3 separate regions of the Homo sapiens genome follow, and regions 1 and 3 are each linked to region 2. Evidence: promoter capture Hi-C in 16 types of primary human blood cells and fetal thymus (Javierre and others, 2016). All regions are on one chromosome and are shown on one strand. Each heading gives the region's core, a stretch centred on a gene start or on the middle of the fragment in contact. The rest is flanking DNA. Distances are from core to core; before and after follow the strand shown.

Region 1 (4,074 bases), core at 1,255-3,754, 290 kb after region 2:
GATGTGTGAAGGTGTGAGCCAGTGTGGGCAGGTGTGAGCAGATGGGAACAGGTGTGGGCAGGTGGGAACAGGTGTGAGTAGATGTGAGCAGGCTGGAACAGGTGTGGACAGATGTGTGCAGGTGTGAGCCAGCGTGGGCAGGTGGCACAGGGGTGAGTAGGTGTGAGCAGGCTGGAACAGGTGTGGACAGATGTGAGCAGGTGTGAGCCAGTGTGGGCAGGTGGGAACAGGTGTGAGTAGATGTGAGCAGGCTGGAACAGGTGTGGACATATGTGTGCAGGTATGAGCCAGTGTGGGCAGGTGTGAGCAGATGGGAACAGGTGTGGGCAGGTGGCACAGGGGTGAGTAGGTGTGAGTGGGCTGGAACAGCTGTGGACAGATGTCAGCAGGTGTGAGCCAGTGTGGGCAGGTGTGAGCAGGCATGCCTGCCGGTGCCACATGAGTGGAGGTGGGGCGATGGTGAGAGGATGTGCTGAAGAAAGGAGTTCTCATCCTCCCTGGTCTTTCCACTGGTGTTAGCTGTGCCCTTGAGACCCAGCCTCTGGTGATTTCTTATCCATAGCACCACAGACATGGGTGAGGCGTGTTTCTCAGCCTTCTGCACACGAAGGTGTGGCCACAGGACTAAGTTCTGGCTAACAGGATAAGCGAAGGTGCTATGTGCACTCCTAGGCTTCCTAGGCTGTGCTCTGCGAAGGAGTGGCTAGCTACCTTTCCCGTTTCCTCACTCTACTGCTGGGATTCAGATGTGATGGCTGGACCAGCAGCAGCCACCGTGGACGACGAGGGCAGAGTATGACTGGAGGCAGCACAGCTGACCACTTGCTCCCTGTAAGTCACTGTCTAGATGTCACCTGAGGCCCTCCCCACACCTCAGAGCTCTTACCCTTGCCTCCCTCTAGAACCTACACTTCACGGAGGCAGGGGTTCCCTTCTGTCACCTGCAGGGCCCGGCACAGGTTAGCATTCATAAATATTTATTGAATCTGTGAATACATATTGTAAAGTGCTCAATACTTCCACGCAAGGTGGTGGCAACAGCATCATTAGAGGGGAGGAAAGAGCCAGTTGCAGAATTTGTGCAGCTGCGGTGGTTGCAGGAACCCCTGAAGAGCAGGCGGGGTCTCCCAAGACTTCTAGGGTCCGCGGCTCCCAGCGCCTCCGCAGCCAGGCTGGCCTCCGCCTTCCACCCTGGCTGCCCCGGAGGCCTTTCTCCCCAGGTGGAAGTCCCAGGAGGAGGCCTCTGCCTCGCACGCAGGCACGGCTGAACCCTGCTTGGCCAAGGGCTGGAGTCTGGGGATGGGGGAGGTGGAGGCCCCAGATCAGGGCGCCCCTCCCCACGGACCCAAAGGCCAGCGAGACCTCCACCCTCACCGGCCCCCTGGTCCCGGCCCTCGGTGGGCGTCGCCAGAGACCGCGGGCTGCAGCGTTGCTGCCAGGGTTGGTCGTCGTCGGTTCCAGGCGGCGCAGAGCGAGGTCTGTTCCTCCCCTCAGGCTTCTGCACCGCGCGCTGACCCGGTCGCCCGGCTGGGGCGTCTCCAAGGTCACGCAGCGAGAGCCGAGGCCGCTCTTCGTTCTTCGGGGGCCGAGGCCGTGGTCCCCCCGCGGGCAGGGACCGCTGCCGAGGTGTCAGCCGGAGTCCGCCTCGCCCTCCCGGCCCCTCCCCGCGCCGCGCGGCCCCATCCCCGGCGGTGCGCTCGGTCCCTCTCTCCCCCCCGGCCTCCCTCCCTTCCTCCCGGCCTCCCGCGCCCGCCCCGCCGGCCCCGCCCTCCCCGCGCTCAGGTCCCCGCTCCCCGCAGCCGTCGCGGACACCATGTCCCAGCGCTTCGTGGTGACCCCCGCGGCGGGGGGTGCGGGGCCCGGGGCCAAGGAAGGCGACAGCCAGCGCCCCACCCCGAGCCCCCGCCGGGCCCCCGACCCCGGCCTGGACCCCGCAGCCGCGCCCGAGCCGCCTGACGAGGACCCGCTTCCCATTCTGCTCTACTGCCGCGAGCCCGGCCGCTACGGTAGGTGCGCGCAGGTGCCGGTCCCCTCGAGGGGCGCAGGTGGGCGGCGGCGGCCTGGCGGGCCGGCGGGGGTGGGGCTCCCGGTCAGCCCGGGGGTCGGTCCCTGCCTGGGGTCCCCCCAGCCCAGCGGAGCCCCGCCCCTGCCGCCCGCCGCGCGCTCCGGGGACCTGGGGCAGTTCCCTGCGGGGATCCCGCCCTGTCCGGGGCCTGCAGGTGACACCGAGCCGGGGCAGGGGCCGCGGGGATGGGCCGACAGCTCCCGGGGCGCCCTCTGACCTCGCTGTTCCCGCGGCTGCAGAGTCCAGACGGGGTCACTTCGCGGGGAGGGCGGGGACCAGGCAGAAAAGGGGCCCTGTTCTCGTCCAGGGCTGCCTCTCTCGGGACCACGGCGGGTCCCTGAGGCCTTGGGCGGGGCTGTGATCTGATGATTTATAGCGCGGGAGGGTGGCAGGGGTCTGGCCCGGCAGATCTGGGAAGCAGTGGGGGTTCGTCCCTGCGGGGAGCAGAACCGTGTCCTCCTGACCACTCGCTGCTCACACGGGGGTCCCGAAGCCTGAGGTGGGCGAGGGGCCTGGGAGGGCGGGGCGGGGGCGGGGGGAGGCAGAGGACCCAGAGCCAAGCCCGCTTCCAGTGGGCTGAGGAGGGCCCTGCCTGGGACCATGGAGTGCCCCCCGCCAGCCTTGGCCACACAGAGGCCACCAGGCCTGGACCCTGGCTTGGGCTTAAAGCTCGTGGGCCCCGAGGACAGATGTCCCTGAGCTGTCACTCTCTCGTGGGACCTGGGTGCCCCGAGGGTCCATCTGCTGTTCCCGCCTGGCATGGCCAGGGTAGGCTGCTCTGAAGACCTGCGGTTACTGCGATGTCTTGCCCTGTGAGGGGCCGGGGATGAGGCAGGTCCCAGGCAGAAGGGCTCCGACGGGCCCTGGGGGACCCAGCTCACGTGTGTGGGGGCCGTGCGTGTCCGTTTCGCCTGTTCATGTATGTCACACATGTGAGAGTCCACAGCGAGGGCAGCCTTTACACGCGATGGCCCAGAGGAGCGAGCATCTCAGGCTCCTCAGCACGTCTCTGTGCTGACCTCCTGCAGCACTGCCGGGAGCCATGTGAGTGTCCACGCCTGTGTGTGTCCGTGTGTGTGTCTATGTGTGTGCTGTGTGGTATGTGTATATGTCTATAGTGTGATGTGTGTATATGTGTGTGTATGGCATATGAGGTGTGTGTGTCTATATTATGTGTAGTGTGTGTCTGTGTCTAGATGTGTGTGGTGCATTGTATGTGTCTCTGTGTGTGTGTGTGTGTGTGTGTGTGTGTGTGTGTGTTGCGGACACCAGTTGTCCAGGACTGCATGGATTGGTACAGGGGTGTGGTGGGAGCTGTGGTCTGTGTCTCAGTTGGATTCGGCTCAGTGCCCTAGATAGGTTGTGGACACACACGCTTTGGAGACAAGGTTAGGGTTAGGGTTGGGATTAGGGGTTAGGGGTTAGGGTTAGGGTTAGGGACACAAGCCTGTGGAGATGAGGTGGACGGGACACTTGTTCCTGTGGGTTAGGGTTAGCGTCAGGAACACATGCGTGTGGAGATGAAAAGGATGGGACACTTGTTATTCTCGGTTAGGGTTAGGGTTGGGAACACATGCGTGTGGAGATGAGATGGACGAGACACCTGCCCTTCTAGGTGGCAGCTGTGGCTCTCGGGTCCAGCCCTGTCCTTCTCCTGAGCCTGGAGTCATTTCTTGGACTCCAGGGTCATGCCCTGCAATGTCTGATACAGGATGCTGTGGTCTCCTCCCTAAAGGAAGACCCTGTCTTCAAACAGCTGCTGTGTGGCACTCCCCAGATGCACACAAAGTTTTCTCTCTAGTTCTGAAGTCAGCCTGCTCACCAGGGTGCACGTTCCTCTTGATTTTCTCTGTGGAGGCCAACAAAGGAGCTGGTGATTCTGCAGGTCGCCGGTTAGTGTGAACTAGAGCGCCAAGTCAGGGCTGCAGGGTTCTCGGGCGTCCTCAGGCCTTGTTTGTTCCGGGGGAAATGGTTTGACAACACGGCTTGTGGCAACAGGGGCTTCCCCA
Region 2 (4,452 bases), core at 1,098-3,597:
GTCGGGGTTGAGGCAGGGGTGGAGGAATGCTCTTTGTCTTGGCAGAGTGCAGGTTACATGCGTGTGATCACTCAGTGGCCCCTCCTGAGTGTGGCAGGTGCATTCTCTGTGTGCTACTGGTCAGTAAGGATGTGGCTGCCTGGATCTGTGTGACCTCTAGTCCCTGCACCTTCCTGCCTGTACCCTGTTAGCTTTGGGTCACAATTCTGCGCTCCTGCAGCGCTTGCAATCCCTTCCCAAACGCTGTTTGCCTGTGTGTTGTTTTGTTTCGAGACAGGGTCTCATCCTGTGGCCCATGGCGCAATCTCAGCTCACTACAACCTCCACCTCCCAGCTTCAAGCTATTCTCCCACCTCTGCCTCCCCAGTAGCTGGGACTACAGGTGTGGGCCACCATGCCTGGCTAATTTTTTTTTTCAAAGTCAGGGTTTTGCCATGTGGCCCAGGCTGGTCTCAAACTCCTGGCCTCAAGAGATCCTCCTTCCTCGGCCTCCCAGAGTGCTGGGATTACAAGCGTGAGCCCTCACTCCTGGCCTGTGTATTTTTAATATACCTGAACATCCATTCTCTCTGTGTGTTTTATTTAACAGCCTCCCTTAGTCACCTGCAAAGTCTTTTCCTTGGGAGACTGTTTCCTCAACCCTGCTGCTCTGGGGCCAAGCCCTGGCTCACTCCTTTTTATTGAAACCTGTGCCATGGAGATAATAGGGGTAGAGAGATCCCTTCTGTGGCAGCCACTGACACACTACAGCTTCGAGGTGGCACATCCCCCTCTCCTGAAGTCCCCTCACCTCCCTGGCGATGAAGTCCCACCCCTGATGGGAGGTGGTGTCAGGAGGCCTTCAGGTGGTCAGGCCAGGAGGGCTCCACCCTGAGGAATGGGACCAGTGCCCTCATAAAACAGACCCCGGAGAGCTCTCCCCAGCCCCTAGCGTGGGGAGATACAGGGAGAGAACTGTCTGCAACCCCGAAGCGGCCCTCACCAGACACAGAGTCGGCCAGGCCTTGGCCTCGGGACACCGGAACCGTTAGAACTGAAGGCTTCTGTGTGAGCCCCCAGGCTGTGGAGTTTTTTGTCATGGCAGCCCCAGGGGGTCACTAGGCTCCCACTTGATTCCAACTCAGCGTGAAGTCACAGCCCTGAGTGCCTTCTGCCTGGGTGCCAGCCCCGGAGCCGGGGAGCGGGGGAGCGGGGGGCGGGGAGGGGAGTGGTGGTGTGCGGGGAGTGCGGGGCGGGCGCAGGGGGTGGGGCACCGCGCTGCGGGCGGGTACTGCGGAGTCAGGCACCAAGGGTCCCTGCCTCCCTCACTGCTGAGCGCGGGCTGCAGGCTGGAATGGCTGGAGAGCCCCAGGGCTCGCCTGGACGCCCAGGGCAGGGTGCTCACGGGAGCATCGAGGGTACACGGGGAGGAACGCCGGGGTTCGGGCGACCCTAGGGGCGACGCACAGAGCTGGGCGCGGCCACTCACCTCGGTGCCTTCTAAGGACCTGGACATCCTGGGCCTTGGCGGCCTGGGGGCTCCATTCCTCCGCGCGCTGAATGGAAGAAATCCCGCCCGGGCATCTCGGAAGGAAAGCCTCGGAGTCCATTCGGCCCTGGAGCCGGATACCAACCGCCAGGGCTTTCCAGGCCCGTCCCGGGAAATGGTTTTCTTAGGCGAGTGCGAGGCGGGCCCCTCGGTTCCGATGCAGGCGCACTAGATGCCGGCAAGGCGGGGACTAGGCCTAGGGGACCTCGGTCGCCTCGAGGTCGCGGAGACCCCAAGGCCACGGAAGGACCCGCGTCTCCGCAGCCCGCACGCCGGGAAGCGTGCAGAGTCCTCGGCGGGGTCCCGAGCCCGCTGGTCAGAGCGTGGAGCGGCGGGGTGGGAGGGACGTGGTCCCCAGAGCGCGGGGCCACCGTAGGGGCCCCTGATGGGGAGGGAGGGAAGGGTCGGCCCGACGGGGTCCCAGCAGTTCCCCGCGCGCAGCCGCTCGGCTCCCTCCCCGTCCAGCTGGGAGCCGCCAGCCCTGGGCGTCCGAAGATAGCGGGTGCCCGGGGCAGCCCCCAGGGGTGCGGGCGAGGGCGCAGGGCGGCCCAGACAGTTCCCGCGTGGAAGGCGCCCGTCTAGATCCGCGACGTCTCGGACCCCCAGGCCCCCGCACCCCGTGTCCGAGGCTCCGGGACGCGCAGGACAGTGGAGCCGTGGCCGCCGCTTGCTCCCAGCCATCTGCGTCCGGGAGGCGGGGGCGGGGGCGCGGCCCGGGGAGGTGAGGAGGAGGAGCCAGGACGCGAGGGCGACCCCGTCGGCGGGAGGGCGGGGCGGGGCGGACCCTGTCTACTGGATAAGAGCCCGAGGCCGAGGCTGAGACCGCCCAGCGCTGCGGAGCGGGAGGGGAGGCTTCGCGGAACGCTCTCGGCGCCAGGACTCGCGTGCAAAGCCCAGGCCCGGGCGGCCAGGTGAGGCCAGCGTCGCTCGCGGCATCGGGGCGCCCCGCTCCTTCCGCAGACCCCGAAGTGGGGCGCAGGGGCGGGGGCCGGGGACCGGGCACAGTCTGGGGTCCCCGCGTCCCGCAGACCGCGCCGTCTCCAAAGTCGCCAACAGTCGCGGGTGCCGAGCGCCCCCCGATAGCGCCACATGGGACCCTGAGGCCGTCCGAGGCGCGAGGAGGGTGCAGGGCTGCCCCTGGCCCCGCTCCAGGCTCAGAACCGGGTGGGCACCTGGTGCAGTCACCGGCTTAGGGGACGCGTGGGTGTCTATGGCTGTGACTCGGGGGTCCTGGTTTCTTCTCGTGGAACTTAACCCTACTAGGGGTGCGGCGCATCCCAGATCCGATCGGAGTGGGTTTTGTACACCGCCGCTCCATCTCGCGGGGGCTTTGTCTGTGTTGGGGGTGGTGGCGGGCGCGGGCTGCGCGCTGGTGCTCTGGGCAGGGCGGGGAGGCCGGGCGAGGACTCGCCAGGCAGCGCCGCTTCTTGTTCTGGGCGCGGTGAGGAAGGACGCTTTCTAACGGGCCACATTTTGCTGTGTAGACCCAAAACTCGCCTCTGAGGCCCCGCGTTCAGGAGCGGGGTCAGGTGGCCCCAGGGCGGCGGCGGCTTGCCGGAGACTCGCGAGCTCCGCACCCGACGCCCTCTCCCAACGCGGCCTCCTGCTCGCGCCGCGGAACCCCTTCGTCGGGTGTTTTACCCACCGGAGGGGTCGTGCCGGTTGAGGTTGTCACCGGGTGCGTGGCATAGCTCGTGATAGCTCATGGGTGAGGTTTTGTGCAAACTTGGATGCAGGGAAAGTTGCCTGTTAGAGCCTCCACCTGCGACCTGCTTCAGTCGTTGTGTGTGTGTGCGCACCTGTGTGAGTGTGAGTGTGTATGTGTGTAAGTGTATGTGCTCGCCTGTGTGTGTGTGAGTGTGTATGTGTGTTTGTGAGTCTGTGTGTGTCTGTGTGTCTGTGTGTGCGTGCGCTCGACTGAAACACGCTGCTGCTGGATCCAAATGACAGAAGTCGCCCTGGCTGGGGCGGTGTAGACGCTCCTGCTCTCCTGCTCAGCGTTGCAGGGGGGTTTATGTAGCCGTTTGGACAGGATTTCCCGGGTTACCCTGCTGGCCCAGGAGCTAGTTCCCGCGATGAAGCCCTGTCCATCCTCCGCCCAGCTCTCTCACGCGGGGTGGTGCCACCTGCCCTAGGTGGATGTGGCTTGTACAGACACTTTTTGAGGAAGCAGTTGTGATGGTTATGTCTAAACTCTCTTTACAGTGGCTGATTTTGCTTATATAAATTTTGCTCTTTATTACTGAGTATAAACAATACAAGCCCAGGCTTGGTGGCTCATGCCTGTCATCTCAGCACTTTGGGAGGCTGAGGCAGGAGGATCGCTTGAGACCAGGAGTTCAAAACCAGCCTTGGCAACAATAGTCAGACCCTGTCTCTACAAAAAAACAACAACAACAACAAAAAAACACACACAAAAATAACTTAGCCGGTGCTGTGGTGCACACCTGTAGTCTCAGCTGCTCAGGAGGCTGAGGTGCAAGGATCACTTGAACCTAGGAGGTTGAGGCAGTGAGTTGTAATCACAACTGTATTCCATCCTGGGTGACAGAGCGAGACCTCATGTTAAAAAAGAAAAAAAAAAGAAAAAAGAATACAGATGAACAGTCATGAAGACATTATTGAATGCTCTTAGAAGATTGTAAAATTGCTCTCTGGAAGTGTGGGGGAAGGTGGAAGTGATATCCATGCATTGTTAGTAGAAAGCCACGCTAGAGCTCACACAGCCTTGCACTTTGATAGGAGTGGGGAGGGGTGCAGGGGAAGGAGGAGCAAACCAGAGTGTCTGTCTTGAGGCCTCCATGGGCCAGTGCCCCAGCCCTGTGGTGAGGGCTGGCACTTCCCAGCTCCCGTGCCCCAGCTGTACCATCTCAGGCGCTGAGAACGCACCCATCCCTTCCCAGAGGAATGCCCGTGAATGCCTC
Region 3 (4,099 bases), core at 1,129-3,628, 330 kb after region 2:
GGATGGGAGGGGCCTGCAGCGGCTTCTGGGCTCCGGCAAGGGTCTCTGTCTTGACCCGCAGGTGCTTACAGGGTGCTGATCCCTGTCGTGACTCACCTGATTAGAATGCAAAAGGCAGCAGACCTCACCCCCCACCCGAGGTCTCCCACAAGTAAGATCTAAGATTTAAACAAGAGAAGCCACCTGCCTTCTGCCTGGCAGGGCTGGGCACCCACCCAGGTGCTTCAGCCATGGCCCCTGGTCCTAGTCAAGATTTTGTAATCACAGAGAAGACCACCCTCGGAGCTGCCACAGGACCCTAAACTCCTGGGCCTCAGTTTCCTCCTCTGTAAAATGAAGCTGATGAGTCCTGAGTCCGGGAGCTGGCCCTGGCCACAGACCCTCCAAACCAGCTCCTCTGAAGGTCCACAGCCAGCACATGGCGGGCAGCCGGCCCTGGGGTCCTGGGGTGTGAAGCAGAGCTTGGATGTGCGACGGGAGCCCTGCACATCTGTTGCTCCTGCTGGCATCACTTGGGAAGGCCTCGTGCCCACCCTGAGCTCTGTCCAACCCTCGGGAATAGCGCTGGGTGGCAACCAGGGTTGAATGTACAGAAGCCCCTGCTGGGGTGACTGAGGAGAGGGTTTACCCAGCACCCTAAGTGTGAACCCTATAATTGACCCCATTGGGCACTTCTGTTCCCACCCCCTGGATCTTTTTAGCAAAGCCAGCCCTCCTCATAAGGATGCCTGGGAACTATTTTATCTTCTGGGGAGGTGATGGTTTCCTACCTTCCAACCCACTGACCCAGGGAGGCAGCTGACCTAGCACCATCCACAGCCCTGAGCTCCCTTTGGTGGGAGGTGGGGTGAGAGTGTGGAGCAGGCACAGCTCCAGACACCCAGGCCAGAGGAACCCCCACCTCTGCAAGGGCTGGTGCTGGATGGGCGACGTTCCAGGAGGGTCCCAGGCCTACAGCTTCTGCCCAGAAGAGTCCATGGGGCAAAGGGGTAGAACCCTAGGCCACCCCAGGGCATGACTGGCTTTACTGGAAATGGCTGGAGAGGTTGGGCTTGCGTTCCTTGAACCCACAGAGCCCGGTGATCCCACAGCCCGGAGGCCATCACTCCCCTCCAGCTGCCTTTTAGGATTAGACAGGCAAGCGGCTAAAACATGGCCAGGCCATACCCATTTTCCACGTGACAAGAGGCTGTGGCCGTGTTTGCCCACACCACCTGTGTTTCTGCTTTGTTGTCGTACAGCAGTTGTGGGTGATTAGGAATAAAGGCTGACTCATTGCACCTGTGTGCCATAGCATTTTAGCCCAATTCCCCATTGACGGACATCTGATTGTTCCGTTTTTCATGAGTCATTTGTTGAGAAATGTGCCAGGTGCTGGCCGGTGGTATCCTGGTGTCTGCCTGGTGGGTTCTGGAACTCCACCTTCCCTGCATCACCCTGTGAGCTTCTGGAACATTTCCCAAGGAGGGAAGGGAGGGTTCTAGGGCAGGGGCCGCGGGGCACTCCTGGGGCAGGTGTGGAGGAGACTGGGGTCTTCGTGGGTGGTATTTGTCATGGGTGGGGGGGGGGACTCCCTCTACTGGGTTAGGTCCCTAAACTGGAGCTGGACCAAGCTCCGGAGTACCCCACCCCCAGGCTATCCAAGGCTCCTTCCACTGGAGTTGCCTTTGCAGCCAGGTTGGGCTAGCCAGGAGCCAGGCTAGGAGCCCAGGGTCTGAGCGGGTGTTGACAGCCTGGAGTGGGTGGGCGGACTGTGTGGGAGGTGGGTGCTGGAGGATGGCAGGGGGGAACAGGAGGGGGAAGAAGGAGGGGTAGGGGGCTGGAGCAGGAAATGGGGGGCAAACAGGAGGGGGTGCGGGAGGGGGCGCAGAAGGAGGAGGGGCCCAGCAGGAGGGGGTGCAGAAAGGGCAGGGGTTCCAGCAGGAGGGGGTTCATAGGGGCAGGGGGGCCCAGCAGGAGGGGGTGCAGGAAGGGTGGGGGGGTGCAGGAGGGGTGAGGGGTTCCAGCAGAAGGGCGTGCAGGAGGGGCAGGGGGCTGGAGCAGGAGTGGGGGGTCGGGGAAGGGGACAAGAGGGGAGGCGGGGAGGGGGCCGGGGAGGGCGGGGAGGGCGGGGAGTTCCAGCAGGAGGGGCAGGGGGCTGGAGCAGGAGGGGGTGCAGGAGACTGAGCGGGGATTCGCGGGCTCTGCGATGGTCGGGAGCGCAGGCAGCGAAAGCCCCGCGTCCCGGGTCGCGGCGGTCAGACAGACGCAGCCTGGGTTGGGGTCCCTGCAGGAAGTCGCCGCGGGCCAACTTTTCGTGGGGCCGCGGGGCAAGCAGGTGAAGTCACGTGGCCCGGGCGGGGCGGGGCGGCTCGGTCGGACCCCGCCCCTGCCTCCAAGTCCCGTGGCGTCGGCGGGAGCGGCGCAGCGCGGGCCGGGCCGGGACGGGGACTGTCGGCTGCAGGCGGCCATGCCCACCAACTTCACCGTGGTGCCCGTGGAGGCTCACGCCGACGGCGGCGGGGACGAGACTGCCGAGCGGACGGAGGCTCCGGGCACCCCCGAGGGCCCCGAGCCCGAGCGCCCCAGCCCGGGTGAGCGCGGCCGCACCTGGCCGGACAAAGGCCGAGCGCCCCGAGCGCGGGTCTGGGCCCGGCATCCGGGAGCGGAGGCGGGCGGCGGGGCCGGGGGTACAGGAGGCGCCCCTTCCCGCGCCCCCACCGCCTGTTCTCGGTCCCCCACGAGGGCCCCCACCCCACGTTAGTGGCAGCGCTAGGGGGCGAGGGGCCCTGCCAGGGCTCCCGGTACGGTCAGCTCGGGTGGGACCGGGGGCAGAGGTGTGGACGCCGCTGCTGGTAGCCATGGAAACGGGGAGGGGCTGGAGCGCGCCTCCGGAGGGAGCCCGGGCCCCTGGGTGGTCCCTAGTGGGACAGGGGTGGCGGTGGAGACCCGGGCGGTTCGGGAGCCGGGGCGTCCTGCGTCCCCCGCGCTCTCCCTTCCCCTGCGCCGCGGCCGTCCGGTAACACTAGCCCGGGCCGGCCCGTCCTGCCCCCGCCTGACCCTGGAGGAGCCGCCCACCCCCCAGAGGCGGAACAGGAAGGACTGCGCCCTGGCTGGGGAGGGGGCAGCCACCGGGGCCTTGCTCAGGCCGCGTCCTCCGTGTTCCCGTCCCCCGTTCCGGGAATCTGGAGGTTTCTAGCACTTTCACTTTCTCTAGGGGGTGGGGACGGGGCTGGGGAGAGAATCCCCCAGCCCTGTTCCCTCCATCCTGGCTCCAAATCCCAGTTACTCCCCGGATCTCAGCCCCCTCTAGAAACCGGAGGCTCTTAGGCCCTTCCATCCGGAGTCTCTGAGAAGGTGTCCGGACTCAGTCCAGCCCCCACCCCGCGTGCTGGCAGTGCCCGCATGTGCCCGGGTCTCATGCAGTGGGTGGCAGCCTCCCTGCTCCCTGGCAGTGGAAGGAAGGTGAGGTCTGTCCAGGGACAAGTCCGGTGCCAGACCCCAGATCCTTCCTAACCCACCATCCCGGGCAGGAAAGGCCAGACATCCCCTCCAGGCAGTTTAGGAACCCGGAGACACGGGTGGGGACCCACCGTGAAGGCAGTGGCCTGGTGGCCTGGGGTGCGTCATCAGGGTCCCCGTGGCGGGCGAAGAGTGGTCTCAGCTTCCTCTGCACAGAGGCCAGCCCAGATCTTGGAAGTGGTCAGGCGGGGCGCCAGGCTCAACACCAGGTGAAGTGCTAACTAAGCAGGGTCCGTGAGTCCAAGCCCCTTCTCTCCAGTCACCACCGTGGAGGCAGGAAGCACCAAGGAGTGTGGGCCCTGGCGTGGTCTTTCTGTGTGAGCTTTGTAGCAACGCCCCCGGAACGCACTCAGAAGGAGCCTCTTCTTGTCTGGCCGGCCCCTTCTCAAGGCTGATCAGGTTCACTTTTGTCTTTAGACTGTAAGTGTCATTTGCTTTTAAGCCAGAGAGAATTTTGTGCTTGTTCGTTTTCTTGTCTCTTCTACTCTCAAGGCTGTTGAGCAGTGCCCTGGGCCTGTGTCTGCCCAGCAGGAAGTGGCCCTGGCTGAGCGCTGCCCATGTCGCTGCCCGCGCACTCAGGTCCTGCTACGGGCGTGTC

The links. The method cuts DNA at HindIII sites, captures the fragments that hold promoters and counts their contacts. A CHiCAGO score of 5 or more calls a contact.
Region 1: a fragment that was not itself captured here is called in contact with the fragment with the promoter of SLC6A3 in region 2 in 5 of 17 cell types (non-activated CD4 T cells, naive CD4 T cells, activated CD4 T cells and 2 more); the score reaches 7.1 in non-activated CD4 T cells.
Region 3: a contact is called between the fragment with the promoter of SLC12A7 here and the fragment with the promoter of SLC6A3 in region 2, in 1 of 17 cell types (monocytes). The highest score is 5.6, in monocytes.

The regions. Positions count from the first base shown.
Region 1 is chr5:1,153,606-1,157,679 of GRCh38, reverse strand. It overlaps a transcript of SLC12A7 not described here. Among named protein-coding and RNA genes, the nearest start is that of TERLR1, 23 kb to the left of the region's middle. The HindIII fragment of the contact is 8,944 bases long and covers 1-4,074 here.
Region 2 is chr5:1,443,335-1,447,786 of GRCh38, reverse strand. SLC6A3 (solute carrier family 6 member 3) reads left to right here and starts at 2,347. Exons shown (of 15, transcript NM_001044.5): 1 at 2,347-2,439. RefSeq lists an enhancer at 1,210-1,709. The HindIII fragment of the contact is 13,596 bases long and covers 1-4,452 here.
Region 3 is chr5:1,110,342-1,114,440 of GRCh38, reverse strand. SLC12A7 (solute carrier family 12 member 7) reads left to right here and starts at 2,378. Exons shown (of 24, transcript NM_006598.3): 1 at 2,378-2,573. The coding sequence starts at 2,450. The HindIII fragment of the contact is 43,087 bases long and covers 1-4,099 here.